Regions from separate parts of the Homo sapiens genome. Here region 1 is linked to region 2. The links are contacts of gene promoters, found by promoter capture Hi-C in human tissues and cell types (Jung and others, 2019). All regions are on one chromosome and are shown on one strand. The core of a region is centred on a gene start or on the middle of the fragment in contact, and the rest is flanking DNA. Distances in the headings are between cores, read along the strand shown.

Evidence for each region. Contacts are between HindIII fragments. The study calls those that stand out against the background at their distance.
Region 1: a fragment that was not itself captured here is called in contact with the fragment with the promoter of HYPK in region 2 in 2 of the 25 tissues and cell types used here (dorsolateral prefrontal cortex and hippocampus).

What each region holds. Positions count from the first base shown.
Region 1 is chr15:44,126,669-44,130,934 of GRCh38, reverse strand. The region is part of intron 1 of FRMD5 (FERM domain containing 5); the gene reads left to right. Among named protein-coding and RNA genes, the nearest start is that of FRMD5, 66 kb to the left of the region's middle. The HindIII fragment of the contact is 3,050 bases long and covers 861-3,910 here.
Region 2 is chr15:43,799,349-43,803,477 of GRCh38, reverse strand. HYPK (huntingtin interacting protein K) reads right to left here and starts at 2,879. Exons shown (of 4, transcript NM_016400.4): 1 at 2,694-2,879; 2 at 2,291-2,346; 3 at 1,909-1,960; 4 at 1-1,767. The coding sequence starts at 2,855. The coding sequence ends at 1,672. It overlaps SERINC4 (serine incorporator 4), which reads left to right and starts at 3,258. Exons shown (of 12, transcript NM_001258031.2): 1 at 3,258-3,593; 2 at 3,992-4,129. The coding sequence starts at 3,492. It overlaps SERF2-C15ORF63 (SERF2-C15orf63 readthrough), which reads right to left. Exons shown (of 6, transcript NR_037673.1): 3 at 2,694-2,983; 4 at 2,291-2,346; 5 at 1,909-1,960; 6 at 889-1,767. RefSeq lists enhancers at 2,603-2,852, 2,760-3,460, 3,461-4,129. The HindIII fragment of the contact is 6,811 bases long and covers 1-4,129 here.

The DNA of each region.
Region 1 (4,266 bases), core at 1,136-3,635, 330 kb before region 2:
ATTATTTATTTATTTACTTATTTTTTGCTACTGCTATTACTGTGAAATTACTAGTATATAAATAATAATTTCTTTTAATGTAAACACCAACTAGTTTATGCTAAGCTGGCTTCTGCTTGCCAGAGTCAAGGTTGTAAGTAAATCTGTAAATCTATGCATTTTGTGCTTTGAAGTTCTAATGAATGAAAGTTCCACAAGAGATGCTATGCTTTCTCCCTCTTACTTTTTTCCATTTGTTCCATACAACTGTAAACAGGTGCTGCCCTGTAATTTGTAACTATTCAAGTTTGGAAGAAATATGTACCTTCTGAAGTGCTAAGCATACAAATTCTTAAACAGGTTTTATAGTTCTAGTAGATAATAACATATTATGGAAAGACTTGCTCCAGAGTCATTTTTTAGAACTTTGAAGAAGGTTCACTTTGCCTGGACTGCAATAGATTTATCCTTTTTCTTATTAGTTATTCAGGGTCACCTAAAACTAAGCTTTACTAGTGAGCCAGGTGTCTCACTTGGAAGTTCCCTGGAATAGTAGAACTGAAGTGTAATCTTTGGAAAAAGAGTTGGAAAGGAATGCCATCAGGGTCCTGGGGAAGGAATCTAATAGACTTTGCCACCGTGGGGAAAAAGGCCATGAAGGCGAGGCAGAGCTGTCCCAGACTAGTGGGCGAATCCTCTTGCCTCCAAGGATTGGCGGGGATGTCAGTCTCTCATGGTCCTCACCTTGCACAGGGTAATAGATGTGATAATGGTGACGAGTGTTAGCAACCTGCTGAAGCATGATGGGTTTAGAGGGGAGAGGGTGGTTATAGTATTAGTGCAGCCCACCTGGAGGGAGCGCCATTGACCACAGGAATCACCAAGCAAGGTGCAAACCATCCCAGCATCTTTTAAGAGAAGGAAGAGGACACTGAGTTAGGGAGAGTTGACATTGTAAATGTGGACATTGAGGTCCTTGGTTGGCCTTCCCCAAGCTGATGTTCTCTGGGAAACAGTGGTTATAAAAGTTTGCTGACCCATGTGCTTTGCCTGGGGCTCATTTGTTCCTTGCCAGAAGTCAATCATGGGAAGGGTCCTAGTTACTAACCTGAGGAACTGCTGCAAGTGAAAGCATCTAGAATGACTTTTCTGTTGGAAGAAACAAAATGACTGTGAAAATTGGAGAGGAAAAGGCTCTTCCTTCTGTTTTGGGCTCTAGTTAGGTCATTTTTGTGATGTGGACGGCTGTTAGAAGCTTCACTCTAAAAGCCTATCCTACAGTATCTCTTGATGCCCTTGGAAATGACTTTAAGCTGTCTTTCCTAGTTTGGAGTTAATGGGATATTGAAGCAGAAACTGAGTTCTAATATCTGGGGACTGCAGAGAACCTCTAAGGATTACTTTAACTTTTTGTTTATTTTAAATTAAAAAAAAAGTGCCTCTGAGATATAGATGACAGGATAAAGACATAATCAGAGGAATTGCCATCACTCCTCACTGGATTCTTCAGAAACAGGACAAAGTTGTTACAGTTCCATAGCCCTGGGATAAAGTCTGTGATTCCTTTGCTTATTACATTTTTGGGACAATGCTTCTTGCAATTCTAGAATCTGACTTATAATCAAAATGGTCAGGTTTTAGGTTTATGAAATGTTTACTAAGTATACAAAAGTTGGGTTTTGGCTTTAGAGACAAAATTATTTTTTACTAGATGGAGTTTCTTGAATTGACTTTAAAAAATAGCATGTAAGCAAGGGATTTTTTTTTTCATTTTAGATTGGGGAATCATAAGAGCTTTCTGTACATGTTTCCAATATAATTGACATTGATCCTTAAGGGCTATTTGGATTAAGGTTAGCCTGTAGTCTCAGTTTTTGTATTATCTCTTTCAAAGTAGGACTTGCCTGAGATTTTATAATGTGGAAATGTTTTATGCCCAGTGCTGTTGACTGTGTAAAGAGCTTCAGACCTCCACTAATGTTGTACTCCTAGCTGCTGTTTGGTTAACACTGCCTACCTTCTCCAAAAGTAACTCATTATATATGCCTTCTCTCCCCACTCATGCTTAGGGACTTCGTACCACATCATTCTGTGTTGTTTTTTTTTCTTTTTCTTTTTTTTAGCTCCTTTAATTTCCCTATTTCTATCCTTGTTCAAATCTTAAAAATTCAGTCTTAATTCCTTCTGATTCCTATCATCTTCAGTTTAAAGGAAGAATGATGTTGAGGGGATGGTAGAAGAGCTCCTGAAAGTAGTCATATTATTTACTGTATGACTATTTTATTTTTGAATAATGGTACCAGTTTGCTTAGGTAAGCACATATCTAGGAATACCCTAACCTACTCAATGATGAATGCCAATATTGAAATCCTAGTGATGTATGCCTACCATATATCTTAATCAGCTTCATAATCCCATTTCTTTCTCAATGATACTACTTTGTGAAACTTAATTTATTTTTATTTATTTATTTTTTTGAGATGGAATTTTGCTCTTGTCACCCAGGCTGGAGTGCAATGGCATGATCTCGACTCACTGCAACCTCTGCCTCCCAGGTTCAAGTGATTCTGCCTCAGTCTCCCCAGCAGCTGGGATTACAGGCCTGCGCCACCACGCCCAGCTAATTTTTGTATTTCTGGTAGAGACAGGGTTTCGCCATGTTGGCCAGGCTGGTCTTGAACTCCTGACCTCATGTGATCCACCCGCCTCGGCCTCCCAAAGTGCTGAGATTACAGGCCTGAGCCCCTGTGCCCAGTGAAACTTAATTTCTTAACTCATGAGTGCTAAATAGTATGGATATAAAAATAGTTGCTCTTTTGGGCATTTTTTGAAGATTGCTTTTTTTCTCAGAAGCTTCATTGAAATGTAACTGCCATGATTCTGTCTGTACGGTGGGGGCGAAATTTTACCTTCCTCTCTCTTGGCATAGCTGCTAAATAAGTTAAATAATTAAAAATGGAAGCATAAGCAAAAGGGAAAATGTTGAAAAGCCAGATTGCTACAGCTGCCTCCTTCACGTTACTAAAAGTTTGTTATCTTAGAATATTATCGACATCTGCTGGGTTATTTATTTATTTATTTTGGAGACAGACTCTCATTTTATTGCCCAGGCTGGAGTGCGGTGGTGAGATCACAACTCCCTGCAGCCTCAACCTCCCAGGCTCAAGCGGCCCTCCCACCTCAGCCTTCCAAGTAGCTGGGACTACAGGTGTGCCCCATGCCCAGCTAATTTTTGTATTTTTTTGTAGAGATGAGGTTTCGCCATGTTGCCCTGGCTGATTTCAAACTCCTGAGCTCAAGTGATCCTCTCGCTTCAGTTTCCCAAAGTGCTGGCATTACGGGTTGTGAGCCATTGCACCCGGCCTGGTTATTTTTATTAATAAATATAATTGAGGGAAAGGAGAGCCAAGAGCAATGAAGTTGAGATTGTACAGTAGTCATGGAAGTGGGGAGTGGTGATGGATAGTCATTGCTTTTCAGTTTCTGAAATGAACACTGAAGACTCCAGATTGAGATCTGGGTATAAGTCTCTTACTACCTTCACAATAAAAAAGCATTTATTAGGCTGGGTGTGGTGGCTTACGCCTGTAATCACAGCACTTTGGGACATCAAGGCGGGCAGATCACTTGAGGTCAGGAGTCTGAGACCAGGCTGGCCAACATGGCGAAACCCTGTCTCCACCAAAAATACAAGAATTAGTCGGTGTGGTGGTGAATGTCTGTAATCTCAGCTGCTTGGGAGGCTGAGGCATGAGAATTGCGTGAACTTCCTTGAGCCTGGGAGGTGGAGGCTGCAGTGAGCCGATATTGCACCACTGCACTCAAGCCTGGGCGACAGAGCGAGACTCCATTTCAAAAGAACGTTTATTAAATGACTATATGAAACATGTTCTGTTCTATAGAATACAGAAAGATTGTTCCTCTCTAGGTGTTTATTATTTAAAGTGACCAATTGCAGAATGAACATTCATTAGGATCAAAGTACTTAAAAAAGTATTTATAGTTCATGAATGTAGCAGTGCCCAGTGATTGGTATGAGGGAAGTACATTAGTTTAATTAGCTTAACGTTCTCTTGACTGGACTATTCCCCTTACTTCTAGTTACTTGGGAAAGTTTTTATGAAGGAGACTAATTTCCAAAGTTATTTAGGCAATGACAGGTTGGAAGATTGGTCAGCTGAGAGTGGGAGGAACATAACGTATGAGAGCCAAAAGGAAGGGTGGAACAATGGGCTGGTAAAGAGAATGAGGACTAGATAAATTCTAATGAGGGAAGAGTCTAGGGC
Region 2 (4,129 bases), core at 1,630-4,129:
TCTCTAGGATAGGAAATGGCATGTAGAATGTATTATGGCTTAGAATTTGAATACCAATCAAAACCTTTCATAGGTTTTTTTCGTTTTGAGACAGTCTTGCTCTGTCGCCCAGGCTGGAGTGCAGTAGCACAATCTCAGCTCACTGCAGCCTCAACCTCCCAGGCTCAAGCAAATCCATCTCAGCCTCCAGAGTATCTGGGACCACAGACAGGCACATGCCACCATGCCTGGCTTTTTTTTTTTTTAATTTTAGTAGAGACAAGGTCATGCTATGTTGCCCAGGCTGGTCTGGAAATCCTGACCTGACACAGTCCTCCCAGCCCAGCCTCCCCAAAGTGCTGGGGTTACAGGCATGAGTCACCACACCTGGCCCAACCTTTGATATCTTCTAGTCTTACCATGTTCTAACCCTCAGGTACCTAAATTCTTTTTTTGGTGGTGGGGGGAGCGCGGTAGAGACGAAATCTCACTGTGTTGCCCAAGCTGGTCTCAAACTGCTGGGCTCAAGTGATCGTCTTGCCTCAGCTTCCCAAGGTGTTGGGATTACAGGCATGAGCCACCATGCCTGGCCCCTAAATTCTTTTTTGTTGTTTTGTTTTTGAGACAGTCTCGCTCTGTCACCCAGGCTGGAGTACAGTGGCACAATCTCAGCTCACTGCAACTTCCGCCTCCCTGGTTCAAGCAATTCTTCTGCTTCAGCCTCCTGAGTAGCTGGGACTACAGGCATGCACCACCACGCCTGGCTAATTTTATTTTTTTTGTATTTTTAGTAGAGACAGGGTTTCACCATGTTGGCCAGGCTTGTCTTCAACTCCTGACCTCATGATCCGACTGCCTCAGCCTCCCAAAGTGCTGGGATTACAGGTGTGAGCCACTGTGCCCGGGCTTTTTTTTTTTTTTTTTTTTTTGAGATGGAGTTTCACTCTTTCCCCCAGGCTGGAGTACAGTAGTACAGTAGTGTGATCTCAGCTCACTGCAACCTCTGCTTTCCAATTTCAAGCGATTCCTGCCTCAGCCTCCAGAATAGCTGGGATTATAGGCGCCCACCACCATGCCCAGCTAATTTTTCTATTTTCAGTGGAGACGGGGTTTCACATGTTGGCCAGGCTGGTCTTGAATTCCTGACCTCGTGATCTACCTGCCTCGACCTCCCAAAGTGCTGGGATTAGAGGTGTGAGCCACAGCACCCAGCCAAATTATTTTTTTTTAATCACTCAAAATCAAGCATGTTGTAGGTACCAAAATTCTAACTCAAGGTGGCCTATGAACTGGGTTCATAACCTACATCTATCTATATATATAGTGGCTCCTAGGCAGGTAGCTGGCCTTTTAGATATTCATAAGCTGTCTTGGAGACACATGCCATTTGAGTACAGTAACTCTGCTGAGACTCCAGATGTACCTTGAATACTGTTGAGAGCTAGTCAGATGAATGAGACTGGCCTGCCACCTAGCATCTGCACATGAGGTATTCTTCTACACTGATTTTTCATACAGGTGTGCTAGATTTTAATGGGTCACTTAAATTCAGTTAGTCTCCAACATATAAATTCTCCACAACATAGGATATAGTATACACTCTACTTGACCCAAGATGATAAAACTGAAAAAGACAAAAAAAAATTTTATTGCCATAAATTAATCCAGTAGGTATATTTGAGAAAGCACGCATCAGTTGGTTAGGGCAATAAGCGCCTCTACCACGTTGCCCATGTGTTCCCGCAAACTGCGTTCTGCTGCTGCTCGAGATATCTCCATCTCAGTCATCTGCAGAAAAAAATCATGTTACATAGGTTCCCAGGCATTAATGTGCCACCAAATATACTGACTCCGCTTGTTTCAGGAAACAACCCAAATTAAGCAGAATAGCCTCCCCTCCGCATACACTAGTTAGGCACTACCACTCACTATTAGCTCCAGATCTTCCTTCTTGATAGTGACTTTTGCCAGTTCTTTCTCCCTGCAAAAATATTTAAATATATTAGTCCTCATTCTCAACCAACACCATAAACTCCCAGGAAGGGTCATTCCCAGAAGTGCCCTGTAAATAAATCTTGATAAACCCTTGATTGAAAATAAAAACTCCCACTAATACTCCTTTCCCCTGGAGTCTTGGCAGCAGGTGTTGCCAGGAGGCCTTCTGCTAACAAGAGTAAAGTTGTGGCGCCTAGATCTGCAGGAATTGGTGATAAATTTGAAGAACGGTATAAAGGCTTAATAATGGTTTTTATTTTTGTCTGGGGACCGGGGAGGGAAGAACTGTTAAAGTTGGCTGCCCCTGAAGACTTACCGCTCCTGTTTGGCTTTCTGCTCCCGGGACCTTCTGTCTCCAATCACAGACATGGCCTATGGGAAAGGCAGGTCTAGTTACTGCACCGCTACCCACAATTCCCAATAATCTAAAAGGCCAACAAAACAAGCGGTTCATGCATGGATTCACGATGACAAGTGTTACCAGGTAGCAAGGACTATGTTTAATTCCATTCTATGCACCTGAGGTCCCCTTAAGCCCACTATCAAGCTCCTTTAGGCAAGCGGCGCGCTCCGGTGACCGCTGTTTCCCTCGGCTCTACCCTATTGCCTCCTCCTGCCAACGGGATCAGAACCCCGTCTTGGAGCGCTGGCTTCCAGCTACAGCCTCAGAGCCCCCCTCTGCTCTCAGCCCGCCCCGACATGCTCTTGGCCAACCTTACCGTCTCCAGATTGGAACTCTGGATCTCCTTCTCCTCTGCATAGTCGGTGACCCGCTCCAAGTCCGCCGCACCGCTGTCATGTTTCCGTGGCTTCTCCGGAGGCCGCTCTGGTCCACTGGTCTCAGTCTCCAACTCCAGCTCCACATCCCCCTCGGTCGCCATATCTATTTCACCACGCCGCCGCATAAGCCCCACCTCACGCCGACTTCCGGCAACTGACACAGCTTCCGCCCGGGGAGGAGGCGGGGCTGGCCCTGGGCCACACCTTCTTTCTGCTCCAGTTCTAGAAGCTTCAGGGAGGAAGGCGGTTCGTCTCTCAGACTTCCTTTCGGGTTTGTACAGTGTTTTGTGCGAGGCCTTCTCTCAGACCTAACCCGACACCGCTCCAGCCCACCCCACCGATATCCTTAACCACCTCATAAACTAGGAATAGTCCCCTCAACACATAAACACGCACCCACCCACCTCAGGGAACTCCGTTCAACCTGAATGACGTCTAATCCTAAACCAATAAAGAATGCTAATCCACAGGGGGCCAGATAGACAAACTGCCCCCTAATCTGGAGAGAACAGCCTGAGTGGCCGCAGTGTTGAGGCCCTAAGGACAAAGCTCCTTCACAGGGCATTTGCATTTACCGCAACCTGGAGGTCAGTGTTCTCTTCCGGACGTCTCCATTCTGCCCGGGACCGGGTGCTCAGCCCCAACACAGTGGCAGTCCAATGGGCTGAGGACAGAAGCAACTGCTGCTCTCATCTGCCTTCCATCTGGTGGACCTAAGCCTAATCCCTGGGACAAGGATGGTGGGTGCCAAGGCCGGCCCCAGCCCCGGCACCTCCCTGGGCCTGGCACAGCAGCACAGCGGAGGCAGCAGTGTCCTAGTGAAAAGTCCCTTCTGTCAGGTGAGAGGGTGCGAAGGGGAGAGTGGCCGAAGCTGGGGAGGAAGACGTGCAGAAGCCAATAAAAACGACAGGCCTCTTTTCTCCTCTAATGTCGTTCTGGTTCGTTGCCCCAGGTATAATCTGTAAATCTCTCCCGCCATGTTTCCAGCCCCAGGTGTTTAGGTCGAGAGAAAGGTCAGATATCTCAAGCCTGCTTATAATGAAAGCCCTACTAAGTTGTCAGTGGGCGGCAATCCCAAATGGCTGGAATCAGCTTGAAACAGAACCTGAGTAAAAGGAAGAAAGGGGAAGGGGAAATTTTGGAATTCAACCTCCTGGGTTAACCTCACACATACATTAACGTATGCCTTTCCTCAGCAAGTCTCCACCTCGCTGCCTTGCATCTGCTCTACTCCCAGGTGTGCTGCTGTGGGCCTGCTCCTTGTGCCAGCTGCTGCCACTCTAGGTGGCCCTCTCTCACCGCATCCACTTGCAGCCGCCTGTTCTACATCCTCCTCCATGTGGGGGCCTCAGCAATCTGCTGCCTCCTGCTGTCA